Linked DNA regions of Homo sapiens: region 1 is linked to region 2. The links are contacts of gene promoters, found by promoter capture Hi-C in human tissues and cell types (Jung and others, 2019). All regions are on one chromosome and are shown on one strand. The core of a region is centred on a gene start or on the middle of the fragment in contact, and the rest is flanking DNA. Distances in the headings are between cores, read along the strand shown. Region 1 overlaps ZNF350 (zinc finger protein 350). Region 2 holds the start of ERVV-1 (endogenous retrovirus group V member 1, envelope).

Region 1 (3,369 bases), core at 771-3,270, 1.0 Mb after region 2:
ATTTTCTTTGCTCAATGACAAGGATCAGGCGAATTTACAGTAAATATTTTAGGGCTTGCAGGCTACATATGGTCTCTTGCATATGCTAATTTGCTTTTTGTTTTACAGTCTTTCAAAAATGTAAAAAGCATTCTTGCAGGCTGGACCAAAGGTATAATAGGTTTTCTATCACATTCCATTATGTAAAATATAGCAGTTTTTTCTATTATTAATTACATTTGTATTACCTAAAGCTTGTATTATTAAGAATAATGCATGTGTGAAAATTTGTGTAAATGTCTTTTGGTTCATATGTGCTCTCATATGGGGGAGGCAGAGATGTATATCTAGATGTGCACCTCGGAGGAAAATTGCTGCTTCATAGAGTGTGTATAAACTCCGTCTAAATAGATGTCAAACTGTTTTCTAAAGTGGTTGTACCACTTACAGTTCCCCTAGCAGGATATAGTTTGCTTTATAGGGTGCTTTATGTGGCCTCTTTAAAATATCTGGCCATACCCTAATAACATTGAGAGATTCTCCTATATTAATGTTCTTTAAAGCTTTATTGATATGTTTCTACCATTGAAATTGACAGTTGATTCTAAAATGGTTTTTGTGTATGTTGTGAGGGGGGTTTTAACTTTCTGTCCCCATCCCCAGTACCATTTATTGATTTTTTTTTTTTTTTTTAATTTTTTTAGATAGAGTCTTGCTCTCGTCGCCCAGGCTGGAGTGTAGTGGCGTGCTTGGCTCAACTGCAACCTCTGCCTTCTGGGCTCAAGTGATTCTTGTGCCACGGCCTCCCGAGTAGCTGGAATTACCAGCAGGTGCCACCTTGCCTGGCTAATTTTTGTATTTTTAGTAGAGATGGGGTTTCACCATGATGGCCAGGCTGGTCTCCAACTCTGGCTCAAGTGGTCCACCTGCCTGAAGGGGGCCTGCCCCTCCACACCTGTGGGTATTTTTTGCAAGGTGGAAATGAGAGACTGAGAAAAGAAATCAGACACAGAGAGAAAGTACAGAGGAAGAAAAGTGGGCCCAGGGGACTGGTGTTCAGCATATGGGGGACCCACACCGGCACTGGTCTCTGAGTTTTGTTAGTATTTATTGATTACTATTTTTACCATCTTGGTGAGGGGGGTGTGGCAGGACTATAGGGTAATGGTGGGGAGAGGGTCAGTAGGAAAACATGTGAGTAAAGGACTCTGTGTTATAAATAAGTTTAAGGAAAGGTCCTGTGCCTTGATGTGTACGTAGGCCAGATTTATGTTTGACTTTACACAGACATCTTAGTGTAGTAAAGAGTAGTATTGCCGCCAGTATGTCTCACCTTTAGTTATAAGGTGGTTTTCTCCTATCTTAGTAAATAGAATGTATGATTGGGTTTTATACCGGGACATTCCATTCCCAGGGAGGAGCAGGAGACAGATGGCTTTCTCTTATTTTAACTGTAAAGAGGTCTTCCTCTTTCACTAATCCTCCTCAGCACAGACCCTTTACGAGTGTTGGGCTGGGAGATGGTCAGGTTTTTCCCTTCCCACGAGACCATATCTCAGGCTGTATCAGTGGGAGGAAACCTTGGACAATACCCAGGCTTTCTTGGGCAGAGGTCCCTGCGGCCTTCCGCAGTGCATTGTGTCCCTGGGTACTTGAGACTGGAGAATGGTGATGACTTTTACCAAGCATACTGCCTGCAAACACATTTTAACAAAGCACGTCCTGCACAGCCCTAAATCCATTAAACCTTGAGCCAACACAGCACACGTTTCTGAGCACAGGGTTGGGGCTAGGGTTACAGATTAACAGTATCTCAAGACAGAGGAACTTTTCTTTGTACAGATTAAAATGGAGTTTCTTATGTCTTCCTCTTTCTATATAGACACAGTAACAGTCTGATCTCTCTTTCCCCCACACCTTCCTCAGCTTCCCAAAGTGCTAGGATTACAGGCGTGAGCCACGGCGCCCTTAGTTCCATTTATTGAAAAGACAGCTTTTATCTACTTCCCTGTAGTGCTATCATTGCCATTGAGTCTCTATATGTGCTTAATTCTGCTTATAAGGATTTTATTCTGTTCCTTTGTCCTATTTGCCTGTTATTGTACTAATATTGTGCTGTCCTAATTAAAGTAGCTTTATAAGTCCTCATAACTGATATGGCAAGTCTTCTAACTTTTTTTTCAAACTTTAAAAAAAAGTTTATAGCTATTTAAACTTTTCAGTATCAGTTTGGGATTGTGACTGTGATTTCATTGAATCTGTAGATTTGGGAGACTTGACATTTTTAAAATGCTTTGTTTTCCAGCCCATCTTTATAGTACATCTTTGCATTTATTTAAAACTGTTAAAATTTATCTCAGTAAATCTAATTTTAAAAATATATTCGAGTTCTTCTAAATGATATCGTTTATGTCAGCCTAAAAGAGGAAACTGCACAAAATACAATTTTAAAGAGTTTACTTGAGCCAAAATGAGGACAGCTGCCTGGGAAAATACTTTCAGGTTGCCTTGGTTAAGTGCTCTGTTAGGATTTTGTTAGAAACAGGTTTTAAAGTCAAAAGGGAACAAACCGTGAGCTGACATAAAGTTGTTTGGCAAGAATTCTCATTGGTTTACAGAAATAATATCAATTAACAATTGGCTGTACATTGTTAACTATGGGGTTTTATGAGTTAGGATGTCCAGTGAATGGCATTTTATGGCTACTCAGTGTGAGTTAGTCTAGAGCCTACATAGCAAGTGGCTTTAAGAGATAATTATTTAGCTTGAGGGGGAAATGAGATGTGACTATTGTCACATTAAATTTTTTTTTTAGTTTTTAATTTTTTCTTTTTTCTTTTTTTCAGGGGAACCCCTATCAGAAAGACTGCTGTCACATTTTAATGCCTCTCTAGACCTGATAATTTAAAGGGAGTCACATTCCTCAGATAAAAGATTCATTTCTTTCTCATTTATAAATTTTATTTTGTTTGTTGATGGTCTGTTCTGTCAGTTACTAGGAAAGGTCTGTTAAAGTCTTTAGTCTGAATTTTCTATTTCTTGTTTTTGGTTCTATTTTTTGCTGTATACATTTCAAGACTGTTGTTAGGGGTATACATATGGTGTATTTCTATGAATGAAGAGCCAAATTTCACCTCTTTTCAGTGAGCATTGTTTCTCTTTCTCTCTGTTAATTCTTTAGGATTTCTGGTCAGTTTTGTCTGAGATATAGTTATAACAGATTATCTTTGGTTACTCTCTCTGTGGCATATTGTCTCCAACCTTTTATTCTCAAGCTTCCCATATCATTTTGGTTCAGACATATCAACTATAATAACCGCATGTGGGGAGGCTGAGGCGGGTGTGTGATGAGATCCGGAGTTGAAGGCCAGCCTGACCAAGATGCTGAAA
Region 2 (3,360 bases), core at 686-3,185:
GCCTGCTCTTGTCTGGCTACCTGCCTACCCTAACAGTATTCCCCCTCAAGAGTTGGAGACCCTGAAAAGCTTTGGGCATAAGGACGTCGTGGGTCTTCTGTAACTACTTCCTGCTGACGTGGGACGAAGAAGTCATCAGGGTCTCCCTCTCTTGCTCTCTGTCAGGGAAGGAGCCCCTCCGTAGTTGCAGAATCTTTGCCCACTGGCATCCAAGGGAGATATGTACTTGTAGGTGCTGGGACCTCCAAGGAAGATTGGATGATCTCTTTCCATTTTTAGGGGCTCTGTGTGAAATTGCCATATCCTGGAAGAGACATATTTAATTAGTGAATTATAGAGACAAGGGCCAAAGAGGAGAAAGCAGGCTATTAAGTGCAGCTGGTCCCAGTAAAGGGACAAACCATGTGAGGGAGGGGAGGGCAGACTTCACAGCCTCCCAAATGGACCCTGCTGAATCACCTTTTCCAAAGTTATGGAGCCACGTAACCTCATCATAGATCTTTTTTATATCCTCCTCTATCGCCCCACTGTTATTGACATAAATGCAACAGGATTTACTGATCACTGCACAGACTCCACCCTGCTCTGCTAAGAGGTAATCTAAGGCCAATCTGTTGTTCATGACTACATTTGCTAGAGAATCTATGGAGGCCTTGAGTTTAGAGATGCTATCTCTGGTACTCTTAGCTATGTTGTCTATTTGTCTGGAGAGATTTCTGAGGGTGACATCATGATAAGTGAACCCTCCCCATGGGGCGATCATTCCTATGGCCGCACCCATCCCTGCCAGTATTAGACCCAGAGCTCTTTTCTGTCTGGGTTGGGTGGTGTTATAAATGGTCACACCTATCCCCCGTGGTCCCAAAAGTCCCACAGCACATTCTCCCGTATGTTGGATGTTATTAATGCAAGTGTAGAGGTTTGCCACAGGGGGGGTTGAATAAGTTATCTTAGGACTTCCATCAAAGGGCAGTTTATTTTTTTGTGGCCCACATAAAAATACATAGCCAGGAGGGGTACAGGCCCACCGGGGGATGTGGCTGTCGAACCACTTGTGTAACTGCGATTTCCACCCTGCTGGAATAGTTTGATTGCATGCAGGGGATAGAGGCCCTCCCAGGGGAACAGTAGATTTTGGCCATGTGGGGACAGTGTGTGCCTTGGGAAGCAAATATAGAACCCTCCATGTGATTAGCTCTTTTCCTTCCCAAGCTGCACAGCGGTTTTGGGGTGACTTGTCTCGATAATCGTTCATTTGTTTAGCTGGACACCAGTGAGTCAAGTTAGGGTGGCAGCCTGCTGGGGAGAAGCTCATGGGATGGATGGTGGGACTGGGGAATCCCTCCTCAGAGGTGTTCTTCCTGTCACAGTGTCCTTCAGGGCATGGACAACAGGTTTGGTTTAGAGAAGAGCAGTTGTAGAAATAGAAAGAAGTTTTAGAGCTTTGATTGAAAGGTGGAGTGAGATCCAGGCAGGGGACTTGGTGCGCTGAGTTAGCAAGCGAAACCTGGAGCGGAACAGATTTATGTTGGCCTTCAGGGATTCCTGAACCAAATGTTAGGTTTAAAGAAAAATTTCTTACCAAAATATATTGGTAAGATGAGGACCTGGTGATGAAGTTGTGGCAGATCCAACAGTTGCTTAGATGGTTTCCCGAAGCAATTATTTTGGAAAAACTGACAAGGGAATTTTCATTCCACTGTGCCTGTGAGAGTAGGGGCATGGGAAGGAGGGAAAGATAAAGGAAAAGGAATTTCTCTGTCATAGCTGATTCTCCCTTAAGCTTTGTGAAAGCAAAAGGAAAGTGCTGAAAATAGGAGAGACAAATAATGAAATGGTTCGATGGAGTGTTTAGTGAGAAATCAGGCTGTTATCGGGACTTCAGGTGGCATGCCAGTGTGGGTCAAAATAAGGAGAAGAACCGATGCCACCGCAACCAAGATTCCCCGTACTGAGAGACCTTTTTTTGAGGTGAAAGGAGAGAAGGCTTTACTTATCTTTTCACTTGAAGAGGAATTGGAAGCTCTCCAGTGGCTGGCTCATGAGACTACTCAGATGCTGATTCTGTTGTTGGTTCTTCGGGACCTTCTCACAGTTTTACTCAGGAGTGATGTATCCAACTAGAGATTCCAGAAACTTTGATAGCTGTCGGGGTAGAAAGTAATAAAGGGGCCTTTCCATAAAGGAGAGACCCAGGCTAGTTGAGACCTGGGTGACCCATCTCTCCAGGTTTTGATGAGGACTTGTGACCCTGGCTAGTATAAGGGTTGATTACTGGAGGGGTCAGTGGCAGGCAGTACCTTTTGCTCAAACTCCTGGATGGCTTGTTGAAATTGGGCCAGTGATGTTATGTATTTGATTAATTGGGTAACTTCTGGATCTAACATTAGGTCTGCATGTAGGAAGGCATAAGTAATATTAGGGGTCATGCTCAGAACAGTGCTACGGACAGGAGTTCTAACCATGGTGAGGAGGTTTCCTGGCACACTTTGTTCAGGGTCCTTTTAATAGTTTGATTAGTGCTTTCTACCTTGCCAGAGGAATGTGTTCTCCAGGAGTGCTAGGAGTACTTTATTTCTAGGGCTTTTGTCACTAATTAAAGGGTGCGTGAAATAAAAACTGGGCCGTTGTCACTTTGTAAACACAAACTAAACCCACACTGAGGGGTGATTTTTTTTTTCTTTTTGTTTTTGAGACGGAGTCTCGCTCTGTTGTCCAGGCTGGAGTGCAGTGGCACAATCTCAGCTCACCACAAGCTCCACCTCCCGGGTTCACACCATTCTTCTGCCTCAGCCTCCTGAGTAGCTGGGACTATAGGCGCCCGCTACCACACCCACCTAATTTTTTCTCTTTTTTAGTAGAGACAGGATTTCACTGTGTTAGCCAGGATGGTCTCAATTCTCTGACCTCGTGATCCGCCTGCCTCGGCCTCCCAAAGTGCTGAGATTACAGAAGTGAGCCACCACGCCCGGCCGGGATGATTTTTTTTTTTTTTTTAAGAAGTACCTTGGCTACTTCCTGGGCCTTTTCTGTTCTTGTAGGAAAGGCTTTAACCCACCCAATAAAGGTGTCCACAAACACCAGAAGGCATTTATAGCCTCTACAGGCTGGCAATTGAGTGAAATACATCCATCAGTCTTTCCCTGGGTAAGCTTCCCAATGCTGAACTGGCTCAACTAAGCAGGACAGGGAGCTGCATTGGCTCTGGCCGGTTGTCCTGGGTCACAAGGAGGCAAGGCTACGCGTTTGAGGCCAACCTGGGCAACATTGAACAAAAAAAAAAATTTGGCTGGGCACGGTGGCTCATGCCTGTAATCCCAGCACTTTGGGAGGCCGAGGCAGGCGGATTACCTGAGGTTG

Evidence for each region. Contacts are between HindIII fragments. The study calls those that stand out against the background at their distance.
Region 1: a fragment that was not itself captured here is called in contact with the fragment with the promoter of ERVV-1 in region 2 in 1 of the 25 tissues and cell types used here (psoas muscle).

The regions. Positions count from the first base shown.
Region 1 is chr19:51,981,488-51,984,856 of GRCh38, reverse strand. The region is part of intron 1 of ZNF350 (zinc finger protein 350); the gene reads left to right. Among named protein-coding and RNA genes, the nearest start is that of ZNF350, 3.7 kb to the left of the region's middle. The HindIII fragment of the contact is 5,256 bases long and covers 1-3,369 here.
Region 2 is chr19:53,012,496-53,015,855 of GRCh38, reverse strand. It overlaps ERVV-1 (endogenous retrovirus group V member 1, envelope), which reads right to left and starts at 1,935. Exons shown (of 1, transcript NM_152473.3): 1 at 1-1,935. The coding sequence starts at 1,765. The coding sequence ends at 332. All of the region lies in intron 1 of LOC124904758 (a long non-coding RNA gene), which reads left to right. The HindIII fragment of the contact is 3,820 bases long and covers 927-3,360 here.